2 separate regions of the Homo sapiens genome follow, and region 1 is linked to region 2. Evidence: promoter capture Hi-C in 16 types of primary human blood cells and fetal thymus (Javierre and others, 2016). All regions are on one chromosome and are shown on one strand. Each heading gives the region's core, a stretch centred on a gene start or on the middle of the fragment in contact. The rest is flanking DNA. Distances are from core to core; before and after follow the strand shown.

The links. Contacts are between HindIII fragments. The CHiCAGO score rates a contact against its expected background, and 5 or more counts as called.
Region 1: a contact is called between the fragment with the promoter of ADAM15 here and the fragment with the promoter of HCN3 in region 2, in 3 of 17 cell types (neutrophils, activated CD4 T cells and non-activated CD4 T cells). The highest score is 5.6, in neutrophils.

Annotation. Positions count from the first base shown.
Region 1 is chr1:155,050,017-155,054,528 of GRCh38, reverse strand. ADAM15 (ADAM metallopeptidase domain 15) reads right to left here and starts at 3,213. Exons shown (of 23, transcript NM_207197.3): 1 at 3,064-3,213; 2 at 1,752-1,858; 3 at 1,036-1,112; 4 at 541-619; 5 at 303-379; 6 at 23-215. The coding sequence starts at 3,142. DCST1 (DC-STAMP domain containing 1) reads right to left here. Exons shown (of 17, transcript NM_152494.4): 17 at 3,599-3,912. The coding sequence ends at 3,661. All of the region lies in intron 1 of DCST1-AS1 (DCST1 antisense RNA 1), which reads left to right. It overlaps ADAM15-EFNA4 (ADAM15-EFNA4 readthrough), which reads right to left and starts at 3,213. Exons shown (of 26, transcript NR_176418.1): 1 at 3,064-3,213; 2 at 1,752-1,858; 3 at 1,036-1,112; 4 at 541-619; 5 at 303-379; 6 at 23-215. RefSeq lists a silencer at 3,049-3,508 and an enhancer at 3,979-4,038. The HindIII fragment of the contact is 11,546 bases long and covers 1,678-4,512 here.
Region 2 is chr1:155,276,205-155,280,297 of GRCh38, reverse strand. HCN3 (hyperpolarization activated cyclic nucleotide gated potassium channel 3) reads right to left here and starts at 2,835. Exons shown (of 8, transcript NM_020897.3): 1 at 2,430-2,835. The coding sequence starts at 2,707. The HindIII fragment of the contact is 9,883 bases long and covers 1-3,717 here.

The DNA of each region.
Region 1 (4,512 bases), core at 1,964-4,463, 230 kb after region 2:
CCCCCCTGCCATTCATCCTCACCCGGCGAATGTGGCGCTGTCCCAGGGGGTGCTCTGGTGGCTTCTGAGTGTGTACAGATTCCCGCCAGCTCAGGGCACAGGTGTGGCCTGGCAGGTGGAGATCTTGGATTCGCGAAATAATGGGAGGACCCTGAAGGTCCCCAGGCCCCTGCTCCAGGGTATAGCTTCTCTCTGGGGTCAGGACCACCAAGCCTCTAAGAAAAAAGAAAGTCAGAGAACATTTCAGCTCCATGCCTGGGTCTCCTTACTTTCTCTACTGTCATTAAATCCGCCCAGTATACCTGAGCCCAGAGCAGGTGCAGATGGACACCCAGGAGCCTGCATATCCCCGCACTCTTCCCTGGTAGCAGCAGTTCTCCTGCAGCATGGGAACAACATTAGTGCTGTCTCAGAGAGCACACCAGGACTGGAACTGAGGAGCCTAGCTTGACGGTAAAAATATGCAGTGTCCTCTCACCTTCCAGCCACCCCCTCCCTCTTTCCCCTAAGCCAAAAATGGCACAAGAGGGCCTGACTCACCAAAGTGTGTCCCTCACTGACCACCCGAGTGCCATCGGGCTGGTACCACACCAGGGTTGGGCGGCCTGGGACCAACTCCCTGTGGAGTGAAGAAAAAGAAGGCAGTGCTAAAGCCACTTCCCAGGTCGTGCATTGACAAGCAGAGGCTTGAAGGTGGTTGTGGGGCTGGGGACCAGGCAACCCCCGCAGCCAACTTTTCCACTCCTGACCCCGGGGCAGCAAAGTATACTGGTTGGGCCACTGACTCTGTTAGTTTATTTGAATTCCAATCTGGTTTTCACCACATACTAGCTGTGTGACCTGGGGCAAGTTATTTAATCTCTCTGTGCCTTGACTTCCTCATGTATAAAGTGAGGACAATAATACATGATAGTATATCCCTTATAGGGCTGTTATGAGGATTAAATGAGCACAAGCACTTAGTACCTGGCACATAATAAATGCTATACAAGTTGTTGGCCATGTGGTCACTGTTATTGCCACCATCACTATTACCTATTCTGTAGCAGCTCCAGGATATGACTGTCACCGTCCAGCTCCAACTTGATCCTCAGGGGCTCAGGCAGACTGGTCTGTGGGCACCAGAGGGCAGGTCACCTCCCTAGACCTGTCCACAACTCCCAGCCTCTCTAACCAGAAAACCTCAGGCCCACAGAAGAGCACCAGCAATTAGATCACTGGTGGGGGGATCCCAGGGGAGGGGCCAGGAAACCCTGCCTGGCCTGGAGCATTGTTCTGGGGGGTTGTGTGCGGAGGTCAAGGAAGGTATCTGAGCCACCCCTTCTCGGCTTCCTGCCCAGAGAGGAAGCACCGTGTAGGACCCAGCACAAGCCCCAGCCCTTCCTCTGACTCAGCTTTAGAATGGGGTGGGGGGGGGGGGGTTTGGTAAGGTCCTGACTCTTTCCAAATCCCCCCACTGAGAAAACCGACAACATGAGATGAAGAAAGCAAGTTTGGCTTCACAATTTCCCCAGTGGAGATGGATGGGTTGGGTGGGGCTGAGGCAGACAGATACACGTGTGTGCAGAGGGAGAGGGAGATAAGTGAAGCCAGGTGCTGGGGTGTGGTGGGAGAGGCAGCTGGGCCTGGGATAGACCCACTACAGTGAGCTCTACCCACCAGCTCCTCAGCCAAGCTTTGGCTTTGAGACACCTGGCTATACCGGGGCGTGTGTGGATTCGTTTATTTATTAGAGGGGAGTGAGAGCTCACCTGAAGCACCTTTTTGAGGCTAATTGGGAGATCGTCCTGAAGGACCTGGGGCTCCAAGGGCTCCCTCGGGGCCTTCTCTGACTCTGCCTGCTGCTCCTCAGTGCCACCTGCAGGTCCCAGGACACCCCAAGACAGTACTGAGGGAATCGACAGCAGGGCTGGGGGTGACAGGTGCCCTCAGATCCACCAGCTCCCAGCCCATCAAGACCCTTAGGTACCTGAGGGGCTTCCACATTGCATGCTGAGACTTAAAGAAGAATACTGGAAGGAGAGGGTGTCTCTCTAATTTATGGCTTTCCACCCACCAACCCATTCACAAGTCCCCAAGAAAGACTTTCGGCTTGCGCAGCCTGTGGCCCTCCTTGTCCCCTTCCGGCCAATCCCAGGTTCTCACAGGACCCTCCCCGGTTCCCACTCCCTCCCAATCACTCTCCCCCCACTTCAGGAACGCCCCCTCTCGAGACTGAGCTAAGCCTTGTGGCCGGGTGCCCGCTCACCCTCCCCTTCGCTCACATCGGAGATGCCAGGAACGCCCATTTCTGGGTGAGCAGTGCAAACACCCCCACCTCCCTAAACACCCTCATGCCCAGTCAGGCACACCCGCTGCCTACAGCCTCTGCTTCCTCCTCGAGCACCCCCCACCCCCCCAACACACAATGGCCCTCTCTCCTCCGGACACTCCACCCGCGCCTGCCCTCTCGGTCCCGGCCCAAGACAGCAGCGGGAAGTGAAAGTTCCAAGGAGGAGTTGGTGTCCCAGCCTCTTTCCTGGCCAATTCTCCCTTCTCCTGGCTCATCTCGGGCCCCTCCCGCTCGGCCAGGCACTGGTGGCAACAGCACCAGGGTGAGGAGTGCCTGGCGGCCCCAGGCCTGGAATAGAGGCTAGAGAGAATCCTCTTCACTAAACCCTACAAGCCATGCCCGCTCAGCGCCCTGGCACCGGGTCGAACGGTTAGCTAGGCCCCAGAGCAGCGAAGATGCCAGTCCTGGGGAGCAGCGACCCTCTCATCACGATCTTGAAGTGGCGCTGGACAGGCCCCTCGGTACCTGGTACCTGAGCCTGAAAGTGTCCGCAGGGACCGCGCAGAGGATGACCAGGCAGGAGGCAGGGGGCGCCGGCATCCCCCCTCCTTCTCTTTTCACCCCATCGCCAAGTCACCGGGCCCTAGGCCCAGGACAGCGGACCAGGGCGGGCCGCGCTCTGGCTGGGCTCTCCCAGGGTCTCCGTCCGGCCCCATTACCCTAATGCCTTCCGACTTTCCTGCACCTCCCTCCCAGTCCGCCCCCCGACCCACTCCAGGCGGAGGACTCACCTATATTTGGGAGCGGCCAGGAAGGCAGAGGGCTGCCCGCGCCCAGGAGCCCCAGGGCCCAGAGCAGCGCCAGCCGCATGGCAGCGGCGCTCCGGGCCGGGCGAGGGCAGCAAGTGCGGAACAGCGCGCGGAGGAGCGGCCGGCGGCCAGGTCGCCTCGGAGAACCCAGCAGCGCCGCGCGGCCACCAGGCCCCGCCCCGGCCCGCCCCCTCCCACCCGGCCCCAAGCCAAGCTCCGCCCCCGGCAAAGCCCGCCCCGCTGCGCGCCGGGTGCCTCGGGAGCGGGGACACCGCCCACTACGCCCGCGCTGCTCAGCGCTACCGCTTCCCCGCAACTGTGCGGAGTGGGAGCCGGTGCCCGGTCCGACCGGCTTGGGCGGCGCGCCTTCACCCGGCGCCAGGTCCGGACCCCTCCCTAGTAGCTTCGCGGCCTCCCTGCCTCCTGTGCGCGGCCTGGCTCGGAGAGGTCGGGCGGGCAGGCTTTCCCGACTGCAGGCGAGGCAGTGCGCGGCTCACCCCAGTCCCCGACCCACGTGAAGCGTACAGGGCATTTTATTAACCGGGAAGGACGGTGCGGAAGAGCGAGCAGGACGCCTCTTCACCCCGCGTAGGCAGTGTCGTCGTTGCTGTCACTAAAGGCGGAGGAAGAGAGCTCTTCGCGGGGCGTGCAGACCGGGCACCGCTGCCGCATGTCGTCCCAGCACGACCAGCAGTACACGGCCTCGCAGTCCAGCGTCCGGCACACGTAGGACTCGGGCGTCTCGGGTGCCTGGCACACCACGCAGCGCCGGCACAGCCAGCGGCGCAGGAGCGGGCAGCCGCGGTGCAGGATATCCGCCAGCGGGTGGCGCTGTTGGGAGGTGGGCGTTAGCGCCAGCCCGGGAGCGAGGCGGGAAAGAAGGGGAACTGGACAGCGTTTCCTGTCTGAAGTCGCCAGGCCTGACAATTCCCGCGTGTTGGAGGAGGCTGGGTTGGACAAAGGAAACCCCTGGAGGGCGAGGGTGCCTCCCTCCCCAACTCTGTGATGGAGAATGGGAGGATGCACCCTCCAGGCTCTCTCCAAGCGGATATCAGCCACAACTCTCATTTGCACTTTCCTGTAAATCATCTTATTTGGTTCTCACAGTGAGGCTGAGAAGTGAGCAGGCCAGATCGACTATCACTGTTGCTATCCCCACTTTACAGTTGAGAAAGGTGAAGTGACTCTCAAAGTCACACAGATAGTAAACAATCCAACTTGGCTGGACCCCAGGGGCCCTGATTCCAAACCACAAACCTAGTTCACTATGCTCCCTGCCATCCCTCACGACATGTCTCTACACAGTTGTCAGGGATTTTCCACAGGCCACCTTACCCAGGAAGCAGCCACTCTTTGCCCAAGAAACTCCAGAGGCCCTGCTGCCTGCCAGACAGGCAGAACTCTTGGGCTTGGCCTTCAGAGCCTTCCCTC
Region 2 (4,093 bases), core at 1,586-4,085:
GAGACTCTGTCTCAAAATAAATAAATAAATAAAATAAATAAATAAATAAAAATTTGCCGGTGTGGTGGCTCACACCTGTAATCCCAGCACTTTGGGAGGCTGAGGTGGGTGGATCACGAGGTCAAGTGTTCGAGACCAGCCTGGACAAAATGGTGAAACCCCACGTCTACTAAAAATACAAAAATTAGCCAGGCGTGGTGGCATGCGCTTGTAATCTCAGCTACTCAGGAGGCTGATGCAGAAGAATCGCTTGAACCCGGGAGGCGGAGGTTGCAGTGAGCCAAAATTGTGCCATTGCACTCCAGCCTGGGCGACACAGTGAGACTCCTTCTCAAAATAAATAAACAAATATAAAAATAAATAAATAAATAAATAAAATTACTCTTCCATCTACATACATATCCCTACTATATATCATTTACCTCACCATTGCTAAATATTTTTAAGGTTAAAAAAAAAAGCTAAAGTATCCTGTGCTAATCTCACAGCATTGCTGAAAACATTTACATGGAGACAATAGATGTGACAGTGTGGTACAGGCACTAGTTGGTATTATGACTCACTCACTCTTTATCCCCAGATTTCTGAAAAGGCTGCTGCTTCCCCCATCTCCAGTTATCTGCCCATTCTAGTCTAGGACCTCATGCCCTCCCCAGCCTTCTCCACCCCATTCCTCTTCTCCAACACAGTTGGACCCACGGATCCTGTTCCTCTGCTGAGGTTTGCTCATCCATGTCTCAGGGTGGGGTGGTCTATCCTGCCTTCCTCTGAATTGAGCTTTCCAGGGATGCCCTTCCCCCTCCACAGAACCTCAAACAGGGCTGCACACACAGAGAAGCTCCACAGGAGATCATGAAGCAGCAAGGCTTGAGTTCTGCATACCTTTCCTCCTCTGGCCTCCCTGTGTCCACTGGGACTCTGGCTGAGCACAGGCAGAGGCATGGGCAGGGGTGAGTGACATTGCTGTGGCAGACACCGTGGAAAGAAGAGGTCAAGAGGGAACTGTGTGAAGCCCTCATTCAGAGAATGGCACAGGAAAATCTCAGGGACTCAGTTACCTATGGTGGTTTTAATTCTAGGACACACCTAATCCCAGTGTCAACTCAGGAGCTAGCCCCTTCTGACTCGGACTGCAAAATCAATTTTCAGCCCTGAAAGAAACTTCCTCAAGTCCGGGCCTCTGGGAAGCCCCTTAGACTGTATGTTTTCAATAAACAAAAACCCTCGGCCATTCTTCTTTTCTCTCCTCGGCTGCTGAGGAGGAATCCTGTATTGTGAGACACTAAGAGAGGGGAGGGAAAGAGGGTTCGCCTAGCCATGAAAGCATCTTCACAGCCTGACTCACAGGTGGGTCACAAGCCTGGCGGGTGATGTAGTATAGAGAATGGAGAAGCACAATCAGAGGGATACCAGGCTTCTGGGGATCCGTCTGCGAGTGAACTGAGGGAAGAGAGTGAGATCCACAGGAGACTAGAAAAGGCGCACTGGCTGGGTGGGAACGAGGCAGCAAAGACAGGAGTGAAAGGAACAATGGGAGGAAGAGAGACATAGAGGGAGTGTGTATATATGTGGATTCAAGATAATGTCTGGGTCTACAACTGTATTTCGAGGCTCCAGATTCACACCTCTTCCTCTCTGCTTCTTTAGTTCCCCAGGTTAGGTGCTTTGCACACATCCCTGCCTCATCCAAGAGCTGTCCTTCATTTCCCCCAAGGACAGGGCTGCTGTCTTCCCCTAGCGACCTTGATGTAGAGGTACACCCTGACGGAGACTGTGAAATGGCCCCACCCCCACCCTCTGTTCCTTCTCTGGGAGTCACCTGGGTGGTGGTCCTGCCCCTGCTTTGCCGCCTCAGTCACTCTGAGTCTCGGCCCCGCCCCGCCGCCCCCGCCTTCAGCACTAGGGACAGCGACCAGAGCTGAGGTCTGGACCCCCCGCCCCCTTCAGCGTCCCTATTTTTCCTGGTAGTCTGTCATGCTGAACTAGGCAGGTGCTAAGGAGCGGGTGTGGGGATGGGAGATGGCGGAGCTCGGCTTCTCCCTCAGACTGGCCCCGATACTTAGAATATAATTTCCTAGATCTCCAGCAAGCAGGACTGGAGGAGGCAGGGGTCCCAAACTCTGGTAGTTCCTTTGGTCCGGATGGGGTCCCGGGTTCCTGAAAGAGGAAATCCAGGTCTCTGGAGATCCCCTGATGTCTGCTTGCCCCTTCTGGTGCCCCCAGCCTGTCCAGGCACGGAGGACCTCCGGCAGGGGATACCCGCCCAGGAATTCCCAGGCTAGACTGGTGCAAGTGACTCTCCCGCCCCACCAAGGGACCCCGGGCTGGAAATGAAGTGACCGTGGAGGGTGGGGCGGGCCGGGTCCCGGTGTCGCTGCCCGCGAGGGTGGGATTGATGTACCCTGCCCTCCCCGCCAAGCCCCCAATACCGGAAGTCGCTGTAGGGGTGGATGATCCAGGCCCCCGCTGACTTCACCCGCTCCTGCTCGATTTCCACTGCTTTGTGGCTGCCGAACACCCGAAGGGAGAACTTGTTGACCGTAGGCTGGAGCAGCGTCCCAAGGTGCCTCCTCTTAGGCTCAGGCCCAGATTTGGGGATCGGACCTGAGGCCGCGGTCGCAGGCGGGGGAGCAACGGGAGGCACCGCCTCCAGTCCAGGGGTCGCCCCTTCGCTGGCCCCCGCCGCCGGCCGCTGCTCTGCCTCCATGGCGCCCACCCCGCTTACACGCTCGGCCTCCTAGAGCCCTCTGTGGCCATCAGGTACCCGCAACCCCTCCAGAGCAGGAGTCGGCGCAGCCCCGCGGGCTCTAGCGGAGGCGTCGTAGGCTCGGAATCGCCGGCGCGCGGGGCGGAGGGGGTGTGTGCTAGACTGGCGGGCGGCGGGCGGGCTGCGCGGCGCCCCCTGGCGAGGGCCGCGCCAAGACCGGGCGGGGCTGGGACGCCGGGATCCTGGAGGAACTCCGAGAGGGGCGTGGCTTAGCAAAGAAGGCGGGGAGCGCAGCCTGAGCCAGGGAGAGGGCGTGGCCTAGCGTTGGCCTTTCATCCACTGAGAACCAGGGAGGAGGAGCCCCCTGCAGTGGCGGGAAAATCGGACGCGGGTTTGTAGCTTGAAGGACTTGGGAGGGAGAGGGATTGGGGACCAATGGAAGAAGTGGAAATGGCTTTTGGGATTCTTCTCCACTCTCGCCCAGGGACTTCTGTCCTGCTCCCGTCTTCTCTCAACACTGTCCTAGGCATATTCTTGTCTTTTGGTCTCCTCCGAACTGCTTCCCCTAGTATTTAATTTCCTAATTCATTCTGTCAGCCTTCACCAAGTGCAACTCTGCCTGTCATTGAGTGGATGCTGAGGAAACAAAAATGAATACAAAAGTCCTAGTCTTAGCATCTCCATGTAGTAATGGAAAACAACACAAAACAAAACAAAAACAAAGGCCTAGCCATAAAGCCACTGCTCATCTGTGCCCAACGACAGACAGGTAAATTGCAGTGCTATGCGAAGTGCTACAAATTCCTAAATATCTCAAATTCTCCCCTTCATCTCCAATTCTTATTACCACTGCCTCATTTCAAGCCCTCAGCATTTTTTCACTTAAATTACTTCGGAAACCTCTAAAAGAGTCTTCAACCTCTTCCAGGCCAATTCTTCTTCCATTCCCTGCCAGTTACCTTCCTAAAATCCAACTATGGCTGTGTCACTTGCTTGAAGCCCATCAAGCTTTCCCATCTTCTACAGGGGTACATTTAAGCTGCTTAGCATGGTGTACCAGGCCCAAAAAATTTGGACCTAGTTTCAACAGTCTCTCTTCTGACAGTCCCTCTCTTGAAAGCCACAGCCCCAATCATGCTGAAAGACTTTGTGCTGCCTTGTCTCTATGCTTTTGCAAATATTTTCTCTGCCTGGTATTCTCCTCCAATTCACTTTCGAACAGTTGGTTCAGATCTTGCTTTCTCTAGGAAACCTAGGAACACATTTCCAACTCTCCTTTCCTCAGGTAGGGTCTATTCTAGAGCTTTTTTACAGCAGCCAGGGCACCACTGTTTTGAGCAACTCATGTCACAGGGCTACCATTATTATTATTATTTTAGAGATGAG